4 separate regions of the Homo sapiens genome follow, and all the other regions are linked to region 4. Evidence: promoter capture Hi-C in 16 types of primary human blood cells and fetal thymus (Javierre and others, 2016). All regions are on one chromosome and are shown on one strand. The core of a region is centred on a gene start or on the middle of the fragment in contact, and the rest is flanking DNA. Distances in the headings are between cores, read along the strand shown.

Region 1 (2,700 bases), core at 19-2,518, 1.0 Mb before region 4:
TATAAAGATTAAGCCAAGTTTTAGCAATAGTTTAATATCTTTGAGTAGAAAAAGAAAAGCAAAAATGAACCCAATCTCTGATTTAATCACCTTAAATGTCATGTTTCAGCAGATCATGACATAAAACTTCAAGACTTGGTCCAGTAAATTAGGAGTATGTCGACCTCTAATCTGATAGTAACACTTGAGTTTTTAGAGGTCTCATTTAGTGGAAGGATAGCATTTGTTTTTATTGTTTAGTATATGTGCTAACAAACTCCTTTCTCTCTTCACTGTTCTCTTTAGAAAGGAGATGTAAGATTCTTGATTTGCACAGATGTAGCTGCTAGAGGAATTGATATCCACGGTGTTCCTTATGGTAAAAAGCAACTTTTTATGCCTGTAGTGTGATTGTTACGGAATCTAAAGTAAAGCCTTCTAATATGTTTGAAAAATTTAGAAACTACTGGCAATTGTTAATAATGGTTTTTATTTATAGTTATAAATGTCACTCTGCCCGATGAAAAGCAAAACTACGTACATCGAATTGGCAGAGTAGGAAGAGCTGAAAGGTACTTCTGCAATTTTTTTTCCCCCATTTTTAAGCTTGTATGCTTTAGGAATAAAGTCTAATAGAAGGCTTTTAACCATCTTTCAGGATGGGTCTGGCAATTTCCCTGGTGGCAACAGAAAAAGAAAAGGTAATCTTTGTAGGGCTCTATTATATTCATTGTGTGTGTTGTGATTTTAGATGTTGGAAATAAAAGCAGTTTGATTTTCCCATTTAAATTTAATTCAGCTGCGTATGGAATACAAATGAACTTTTTAATGTCATCTTTTTTCCTATATTCATTGAATGGACAAATAATAGGGTGAAATTTAGAAAGGAAAAATGCAAAATATAATTTTTCCAACTAGCTTTATTGTACTCATTTCCACCAAAAAATATTTAAACATTTTCTGGCATGGTGCCATGGAAGACCTTTCATGGTGAGGGGAGATTTATTTTGATATAATTACAAATTTATAGAAAAGTTGTATTCATAAAGAGCTCCCATATACTCATTGCCAAATTCAGTAGTTGTACATTTTGCATTATTTGCTTTATTATTCTCTTATACAAAAGATTTGAACTTATTTTTCTTTTGAACTTTTTTATGTTAATATTGACATAGTATGCTTCAATATTTACTTTTTCATCCTACTTTTATCTGAGAATTCCTTTTGATATCTGACACCCATTTTAGGAAAACTTTTGGATTATTCTCAAAAAGAACTTTTTCAGAAGACCTATTTATTCAATGAGCTACTGAATAGTAGTGGTAATTGGATGATATATCATACCTATAATCTATTTTTCTAGTGCCTTGAGGACAGAAAACAATTAAAAACAAATTTAGAATAAGATATTTAGCATGTCTCTATCTCCATGCATGTTAATATTTTTTCCTTTTTAAATTTAGGTTTGGTACCATGTATGTAGCAGCCGTGGAAAAGGGTGTTATAACACAAGACTCAAGGAAGATGGAGGCTGTACCATATGGTACAACGAGATGCAGGTAAGACTTCGAGTTAGGCTCACAAATAATGTATTAAAATGGTAGAATAGAAAGCATTTATCTTCAAAAATTATATCTTGGCTTTTATCTGTTTGTCACTTATAAGGGAAAGTCGTAGTTGGTTATAATGTTATCTGCACTTTGCTAATTGTAAGTTGTGAATTTCTCTCTTCAGAAATCTGACTTCCATTTATACCAAGCATTCTGGCCTTTCCAGCTTTATTTAATGATGATAAAATGCAACTCTTTCTAAATGAAATTTTTATTTGGAAATTTTCTCTCCATTACTTAGTTACTATCTGAGATAGAAGAACACCTGAACTGTACCATTTCTCAGGTTGAGCCGGATATAAAGGTACCAGTGGATGAATTTGATGGGAAAGTTACCTACGGTCAGAAAAGGGCTGCTGGTGGTAAGCTTTGAATTATTTTAAATACAATTTTAAATGTAAATATACCTGTTTTGAACTTCGGTTTGGGAAGGCAGTACTTTCATTTCATTAGGTTAAGAGTATATTTTTAGCGTGTTAATCATTCCCTCCTTATTACCCTCATAGTACTTTGTCCATACCTGCCTTGTAGCATTTTTAAATTGTGTCATCTTTATGTGAATGAAAGACTTCAGCTTAGCTCTTTCTCTTGAAGTGTTAATGTCATAAGAGTAGTTGAACATTTTGTGGAATTAGTAGGAAACAAGAGCATAATAGGTGATTTTGAACAAGGAATCAGAAGCCTTTGACTTAACTCAGGTGGTAATTCAGCATATTATTTCCTCTGCCTGGGATGCCCTTTTGTTAGCTTGTTCCTGAAAAATTGTAAGACTCAGGCCTAACTAGTTGTTTCCGAGCCAAGGGTGGGTAGAGGTGTTGGGACAGCTGTTAGTGAGGCCTAATTATTTATTTATATTGAAATAATTGATTTAACATTTTTTAAAGTCAAAGTTCTGGAGATAACTTGCCCAGTAGTACATTTTATTGCTGCAAGCAAAGTTTAAAGTGATATAATTGAGCCAAAGTATTGCTGACAAGTTATTTCAAGCATGTCATTTACATTACTTTGTTATTTGTGTGTGATGCAGGTGGAAGCTATAAAGGCCATGTGGATATTTTGGCACCTACTGTTCAAGAGTTGGCTGCCCTTGAAAAGGAGGCGCAGACATCTT
Region 2 (2,700 bases), core at 200-2,699, 1.1 Mb after region 4:
CACCTTCAATACCCTGAGCAACTTGAAGACAAACGCTTTTTAATTTGACTTTCTGTCCTCAGCACCCAGTACAGTATTTGGCACCCAGCATGCGCCAAGTAAAAGCCCAAAGACCAAAGGACTAGTCATCTTCTGAGCTCCTGGCACCATGCTAAGAGATAGAAAAGCCATCATCTATATCTTTAAAGACGTTTCAATGTAGCTGATGGGAATAAGTCATATCCATGTGAACAGAGAACCAGAATATCAGGTGGTAAATATTAATGGCAAATGAATGGTGCCAAATCTAAGTGCTACTGATCAGAAAAGTGGGAAATTCCAAGGGCTGAGGCAGGCAGGGAAAGCTTCATGGAAGAGGCAAGATTGGAACCAAGCCTTGCATCTTGTACCTATTCCCAGTGATTACATTACATGTATGAAGCTGTTTTTGGGAAATAGTGTAGTAGAGTAGAATTTGAAATTATAATTATGTAGTACGGGGGGATTTGGAATTCACACAGACTTAGATCGCATTCTACTTTTCCCATCCTCTTGCTGTGTCTGCTGGGTCTCTTTCTGAACACAAATTTCTTCATCTTTAGGTTGTGGATTAGAACCTCTATCTTTCAAAATTGCTGCGAAAATTAAGATTAACTAATGAACCTGAAAGAGAAAAGTCTGGTTCTCAGCACATGGCAGGAATGCAATAAAGGTTCACCCTCATTTTAATTAGACTCCAGGGTTAGATTTCTTAGTTTATTGACCAAATTCTTATCTATGGAAGGCTTTTCTGAAGCATTATTAGGAGTTGGAATTCACTGGAGTCCTCCCTCTGACTCGAACAAATGGCCCATACAAACTACCTCATGTAGAACAGGGATCCAGGAGATCACAAGAGAAATAGACCCTCAACCTTGATGCTTCTCAAAGGTCTGAGACGGTCCTATTTCTCATGAGACAGGCTTTTAAAGGAGCATGAACCACCTTCCATGCTGATTTACCTGGTGTCATGTATCATGGCAAATGGCTGGGTTTGGAGCAGATAATTGCATTGGTGAAAGTATTTTTGTTAATCTTGGTAATATCAAAACATATCCCTATACTCTTTCATACTTTCCAAAGTCAAGTCTCAATTTTTTAATTTTTAAAAATGTCATAGCAACACAATATATAAGATTCCTAATTTTCACACAAGGAAACTGAGGTCCGCAAAGGTTGAATGACTCACTCAAATTTCCATAGTAAAGTAGAGGATTTGGGTGCCTTGAGTGACAGTTCCACATTTCTAGACTGAATTCCAAGTTCTCTTTGGCAGTGGTGTACCAAGGATGGGGGTGTTGGTGGGAGTGGGCTTCCCTAAAGAGGAGTCATTTTATTATTGTCATTGTTTAGAATTGCCACTACATGGTTATAATAAGATAAAGACCAACTTTTAGCCAAGCATTATCACTGTTTTAAAATTATATGTAGACAATACCTCCCTTTATTGCCTACACCAGAGGCTGAAGGTTCTCACCACCCATCCAGGGTACGCCACTACTCTGGTTCCATTAAAAAAGAAAGATTACATTTGAATGGAGGGATTTTGGTTTCTAAGCAGGGGGGACTTGAGGCCAAGAGAAAGTGGGAGTGATATATTTGTGGCTACTTGTATTGTGGCTCTAACTTCTCTTGACTCAAGGAACCAAGAATGTACCCAGCACAAGATTTTTGTTTGTTTGTTTTTTTGAGATGGAGTCTTGCTCTGTCACCAGGCTGGAGTACAGTGGCACGATCTCGGCTCACTGCAATCTCCGCCTCCCAGGTTCAAGTGATTCTCCTGCCTCAGCCTCCCAAGTAGCTGGGATTACAGGCACATGCCACCACACCGAGCTAATTTTGTATTTTTAGTAGAGACGGGGTTTCACCATGTTGGCCAGGATGCTCTCGATCTCCTGACCTCGTGATCCACCCACCTTGGCCTCCCAAAGTGCTGGGATTACAAGCATGAGCTACAGCACCCTGCCCCAGCACAAGATTAATAATTACAGCAACATTAGTTACCACACTTACAGTTTACAATGTGTAAACCTGCTAAAAGCGTGTACTCTATAAGGCAAGTATTAGTATTTCAATTGCACAGATGAAGATGAAGCTGAAGCTGAGAAAGATTGATTCATGTGTCCCAGGTCACAATAACAGAGGAGGAAATGTAAGATGTGACAGGTTTGACCTGGCTCCTATTCCTGCACTCTTGCCACTACCCCCATGTTCTATCTGTTCACCGATGTTCAAACAGCCACCAAAGTACTAAAAATGCTAACATTGCAGAGGAGGCACATCACAGGGGCTCCCAGGGCCACTGCTTGAGGAGGGTGCACCCTGCACAAAGGTGCTGGGCTGAAGAGGCAAGCAGGGCTGAAATAAGCCTTAGCTTGGTTGTTTTGTAATTTGCACAAAGGAGCCGTATGGGCTGGTAATGGCATGGAACCACCGGTGGCCACAGCTTAAGGAATTCCATCAGCCTCTTGATTTCTGTTTTCTGTCTATCCTTTGAGCACTATTTGCCAATTTCCTGGAAGTGGCTCTGCCTCAAGAAAGCTTCCTGGCTCTTAAATGTAGAGTTTACAATCCTCTGAGGCCAGTGTGAAATGCCCAGTTGTCCTGACTGTTGTCAGGAACATGACCAGCATTCCCTCAGAAGCTCATCATTCTGAAAATTAGACACAGACCACTTATTAA
Region 3 (2,700 bases), core at 21-2,520, 1.1 Mb after region 4:
TTTGTGTTCACAAACTTATCTCAGTGTCCAGAGGCACCACCTCAGTCTATGCCAACCTCATCTCTCATCTATACTCCTGAAGTGCCATCTTCACTAGTTTCTTGCTCTTGGCCTCCCCTACCCCAGACTATTTTCCACATAGCAATTAGAATAATCATAAATCTTTCTTGCTTAAAAATATTCAGTGGTTTGGCCGCGTGCAGTGGCTCACGCCTGTAATCCCAGCACTTTGGGAGGCCGAGGCAGGTGGATCACAAAGTCAGGAGTTTGAGACCAGCCTGGCCAAGATGGAGAAACCCCATCTCTACTAAAAATAAAAAAAAATTAGCTGGGTGTGGTGGCAGATGCCTGTAATCCCAGCTACTTGGGATGCTGAGGCAGGAAAATCACTTGAACCTGGGAGGTGGAGGTTGCAGTGAGCCGAGATCACACCACTGCACTCCAGCCTGGGCAACAGAGTGAGACTCCACCTCAAAAAAAAAAAAAAAATCAGTGGTTTTGGCCGGGCACAGTGGCTCACACTTGTATTCCTAGCACTTTGCGAGGCTGAGATGGGCGGATTATTTGAGCTCAGGAGTTCAAGACCAGCCTGGGCAACATGGTGAAACCCCATCTCTACAAAAAATACAGAAAATTAGCCGGGCATGGTGGCACACACCTGTAGTCCCAGCTGCTTGGGGACTGAGGCAGGAAGATCACTTGAGCCAGGAGATTGAGGCTGCACTGAGACAAGATCATGCCACTGCACTCCAGCCTGGGTGACAGAGTGAGACTCTGTCAAAGAAAAAGAAAATTCAGTGGTTTTCCACTCTAATTAAAGCTTAAGTAAAATGTTATTACATTAACGTTTTTGATACTAGTCTAATGTTCTTGCCTTTGTGTTATACTATTTTGACTTTTACTATCAGTGTTTGATGATTAATGTATTACTAATTTATATATTTCAGGAACTTATTTTTTCGTATCTCATATTTAACACAAATGGATGTAAAACTGGTATTTGTTATGGAAGGGGAACCACCAAAGCTGAAAGCTGATGTCATAAGCAAGAGGAATCAGTCTCGGTATGGGTCTTCTGGAAAATCGTGGTCTCAGAAAACAGGGAGATCACATTTTAAATCAGTCTTAAGAGAGGTGAGCATTCAGATTTGATTCAGTAATTCCGATTTGAATTAAAGGGTGCATTTTACTCTTAATAGTTTGTCATCTTTAATACTTATTAATTTTATTGTGACTAGCAGGGATGTGCCTAGAGAAAAGAGTTTATTTTTTAGAGTGAAATTGACCTGAGTTTCATTCTTGGCACTGGTATGTAGAAACTCTGAGACACTGAGCAAAATTTGTAACCTATCTCTACCTTGTATGTTACCTTGTGAAATGACAACAGTAATACTCAGCAGGGATGTGATAAAAATAAGAGAAAGTATATCTAAAGCAACTAGTACATGGTAGGAACTTGATCATATTACCTTTTATAACACCTTCAGGACTTAAAGAAGTCCCAGAATACATGAGATCTCATTAATTCGTACTTCACTCATTCAGAATTCATGATAGTTCATATACAGAATATATATTTGGCTTCCCTTAGGGCTTGTAATTTTAAAAACTGTCGTTACATTATAATATATTATTTATATGTTACTTTAATATTGCTATATTTTATATTTGTATGAAACTTAAGAAAGAAATCATCTATAGTATATAATTAAAACAATAGGAAGCTTTTTTTTTTCTGTTTTCTTTTTTTGGTTGTTTTTTTTTTTTTTTTGAGATGGAGTCTCGCTCTGTCACCCAGGCTGGAGTGCAGTGGCGCAATCTCGGCTCACTGCAAGCTCCGCCTCCTGGGTTCTCACCATTTTCCTGCCTCAGCCTCCCGAGTAGCTGGGACTACAGGCGCCCGCCACCACACCTGGCTAAGTTTTTTTTGTTTTTTTTTTAGTAGAGACAGGGTTTCACTGTGTTAGCCAGAATGGTCTCGATCTCCTGACTTCGTGATCCGCCTGCCTCGGCCTCCTGAAGTGCTGGGATTACAGGTGTGAGCCCCTGTGCCTGGCCTTTTTTGTCTGTTTTCAAATGTGTGTATTTTTAAAGAGTTGTAGTAGTACACATGATTTTTAACCTAGCCTTTTCACTTAATGCTTCATGTTGTCATATTTCCCTTTTGTCACATTCTAATCAAAATCATAACTTGTAGTGGTTGTGCAACATGTATGAAGCTATGAATCATACCCCTGATTGTATATGTTATTTACTTTTTTAGTTTTTCTCTACTATACATGGAAGTGTGATTAACATTTTTTGTGTATATAATGTTTTCTTGTGATTTGAAATTTTAGATAAAATTACCCAATGTTGGATTGATGGGTCAAAGTTTTGGAATGATTTTATTGCTCTTGCTGATTAATTTCTGCTAATGCAGATGTCAGAGAAGCAGTGTCGGTGCACTCACAAGAACATTGGATGTTAGGAGGCTTGTCTTTGTAATATTTAGTGTGCAACAACAAAGATATTTAATATGCATTTGTCTTTTAATAGTAATGTTAAACATTTCATCTATTTTTAGTCTCCCTTTGGGTAATGGCTATCATCATGTCCTTTACCTACTTACCTCTTGAGGTTTTAATTTTTCTTTTGTGCAAGTTCTTTATGTATTAAGGATATAAGCTTCTATCATATTTGCTTTGAATTTGTTTTTCT
Region 4 (2,700 bases), core at 194-2,693:
GGACCAATAAAAACCAGCTCCCAGAAGAGTCAGAAGGAGGAAGACAGGCAAAACTGTCACCATAGCAACACAAGACAGTCAGAAGCACGCAGGAAAAACAGCCCCTGCTCTGCCTCCTGTCTCCACTGCAAAGCAAGCCCTCGAACCCCAACCAGAGATCAGTGAAAGCCGACAATGATCCACCCAAAGAACTCTGGTACCCAAGCCCAGACCTGGCTAGCAGCCACTCTCCTCCTGCTGCCCCAGCACAAGTCCCAGCCTTCCAGGGTCCCAGATCAGCATTCTGTGCCCTGGGGACTCGACACTGTGCAGATGGCCCAGGTCCCATCCAGAGGAGATAGTGACTGGTGACAGAGAGGAAAGTTTCTAACAGGGAGAAAAGGAGGGTCACAGAGCTTCAGGGGAGATCAGGGCCCTAAACTCCAGCCCCATGACCCTGTCTTGGGTTCCCTGGGGAGCAGGCGGGTAAACAAGGGTGTGGGAGAGGACATCAGGCCCTGGACACAGAAAGATTGCTCCATCAGTTCTGGACCTGGCACCCCCAAAACAGTGGCTGGGGGAATTCTGGGGATGCGTGGGGAAATAGCTTTGGAGGCCTTAAATGACAAAGATCTTGGCCCTGGTCTCTGGGGACACTGGCTAGCGAGTAGGAGCAGCTTGGAGGAGGACCCAGGGACGGGCTGGCCCATTTTGACAGAGAATGTCTCCTGGCAGACAAGACAGGTGTCTCCACCAAAAAGCATGGCTGGCCTGGGACCAGCATTTTGGGAAGTGGGTCAAATTGTTCCCAAAGCTCAGTATTGGAAAAGTGCCTTTTGCCAAACTGGGGTTCTGGGTTCTGGGGGAGGAGAGAGGGTGACGGCAAGGTGTGCTGGGTCCTAGGCACAGCAGCTTTCTGGCTGGCTAAGAACGTCTGTGGCAGGTGGCAACAGAAGGGTCCAGGTGTGCAGGGGCTGGGGAGGGGGCCATCCCTCCCTTTGGGGCTGTAGAGAGTACCCAGGACCCCGGGGCCTCGGGTGGTGGGAAGGGGAGTGTTAGGGGTCCCCTGCAAGAATGGAGCTTATGATACCTGGGGTGGGGGGTAAGTGAGTGAGGGACGAGGGAGGGTGGTCTGGGAAAGGAACACAATCAGGAGGCAGCCCTCTCAGAAAGAGGGCAACGGGGCACAAAGCCGGACCTCTGTCCGGCGATCGCTAGAGAAGGGCTCCCGGACGGTGTCCTCCGCTCTCCCTCCCTCCCAAAGGCTGCAGGGGCGTCCGGGAGGAGAAGGATGGCAGGGAGGCGCCCGCCCCGCCTCGCGGTGCCCCGCGGTGCCCCGTGCAGGCCGAGCCCCGCGCCCGCAGACCCCCGCCCGCGCCCCTGCCGCGCCCCCAGCCGCGCCGCGCTCACCGAGTCGCCGCCGCCCTGCTCTGCCGCCCGCTCCGCCGCCGCCGAGTACGCCTCTCCCGCGGCCGCCGCAGCCTGCGAGACGGCCTCGGAGCCCCGCCCCGCCCCTCCCCGTCCCTCCCCGCCCCGCCCCGCCCCCAGCCCGGCTCGCGGCAGCCGCCCCGCCCCGGCCCCGGGGGATCCCCACCCGCGCTGTCACCGGCCGCGTCCTCACCCTAGCCTGGACAACCCCATCTCTTTGCCCGGCTCTGCTCTCTGCTCCCAGGAGCTGGTGCGGACCCGCCCCAGCACGGTCGCCCCTGCCCCTTCTCAGCCTTGGCCACTTGGCCTTGCCTTCCCAGAGGAAGCCCGAACCAGACCTTTCTGTTTCTGCACACCAAATTCCTCCACACCCACGGTTGCCCTCCAAGAAAAAGAAATCCCCGCAATCTCTAGACGCATATTCACCTTCAAATTAATGCCCAGCCAAATCATCCCAATCCCTAGGCACACTCCAAATTACTTGAGATTCTGAACCCAGTCTCGCTCCCAGTCCCTTTCTGCCCACCCTATTAACAGATCTCCAGCCTTGGGGCCCGCAGTTATCCGATAGGACCACTGTAAAGTCTTCCCAAAGGCTCAATCCAAAACATGTAATTAACCTTAAAGAGTAAGTCTGCAAAAACACTTAAAAAATTCTATGATGCAAAAAGAAAGTAGTGGGTTACAGCGTCATTGACGTGATCATTGTTCTAAAACATCTGCCATGGAGGCTTTTTGCATTAGAGAGAGGGAGATTCAGGAAACCGGAGAGGACTCAGCAGTGCCAAACAGGTTGTGAGTCAGAGCTCCTGTTGAGGGGAGGGAGAGCTCCTGGGGACCCCGGCTTCGGGTGCTTCCTTTCCCAGTCCATCAGCCAGAACATCATGAAACATGTGTTAAATCCCCATAGTGTGCCAAGGTACGTGCCCGAAGCTGCATGGGTTGGGGCCCTGTGTGGGCTGGGATCAGAGGAGGCGGGAAGCATCAGGAGAAGGTGTTCAGGCCCCTCTCCTTTCTGAGATCCAGGGTGTTTCCCCTGGGAGGACTTGTTGCCCAAGCTTCCTTTGCACTCTGAAAGGCTCTCCTGAACTGCCCACAGAGGCTCTTGGTCTGTTTTTTGGCAAAAATTCACAGAGGGCAGGAAGGCACTGTCTAGTTAGAGTGAAATATTTTCCCACTTGGAAGGGGTCCTTAGGACCAGAAGAAACACTTTCCCGTTCTCTTTTTGAGTTTTCCCCATGCCCTAGACCAGCCTCTGTTGTCAATTCCTGCAAAGGTGTTTTTTTTGTTTTT

The links. The method cuts DNA at HindIII sites, captures the fragments that hold promoters and counts their contacts. A CHiCAGO score of 5 or more calls a contact.
Region 1: a fragment that was not itself captured here is called in contact with the fragment with the promoter of CYRIA in region 4 in 1 of 17 cell types (endothelial precursors); the score reaches 7.3 in endothelial precursors.
Region 2: a contact is called between a fragment that was not itself captured here and the fragment with the promoter of CYRIA in region 4, in 1 of 17 cell types (M0 macrophages). The highest score is 8.5, in M0 macrophages.
Region 3: a contact is called between a fragment that was not itself captured here and the fragment with the promoter of CYRIA in region 4, in 2 of 17 cell types (monocytes and M0 macrophages). The highest score is 7.1, in monocytes.

What each region holds. Positions count from the first base shown.
Region 1 is chr2:15,628,160-15,630,859 of GRCh38, forward strand. It overlaps DDX1 (DEAD-box helicase 1), which reads left to right. Exons shown (of 26, transcript NM_004939.3): 21 at 286-358; 22 at 479-551; 23 at 638-680; 24 at 1,443-1,538; 25 at 1,831-1,951; 26 at 2,617-2,700. Among named protein-coding and RNA genes, the nearest start is that of DDX1, 38 kb to the left of the region's middle. The HindIII fragment of the contact is 1,371 bases long and covers 584-1,954 here.
Region 2 is chr2:17,809,446-17,812,145 of GRCh38, forward strand. No RefSeq gene overlaps it. Among named protein-coding and RNA genes, the nearest start is that of MSGN1, 5.7 kb to the right of the region's middle. The HindIII fragment of the contact is 2,215 bases long and covers 343-2,557 here.
Region 3 is chr2:17,760,449-17,763,148 of GRCh38, forward strand. It overlaps GEN1 (GEN1 Holliday junction 5' flap endonuclease), which reads left to right. Exons shown (of 14, transcript NM_001130009.3): 3 at 948-1,134. Among named protein-coding and RNA genes, the nearest start is that of GEN1, 7.7 kb to the left of the region's middle. The HindIII fragment of the contact is 904 bases long and covers 819-1,722 here.
Region 4 is chr2:16,664,391-16,667,090 of GRCh38, forward strand. It overlaps CYRIA (CYFIP related Rac1 interactor A), which reads right to left and starts at 1,444. Exons shown (of 12, transcript NM_030797.4): 1 at 1,390-1,444. RefSeq lists silencers at 1,361-1,410, 1,481-1,650. The HindIII fragment of the contact is 7,241 bases long and covers 1-2,463 here.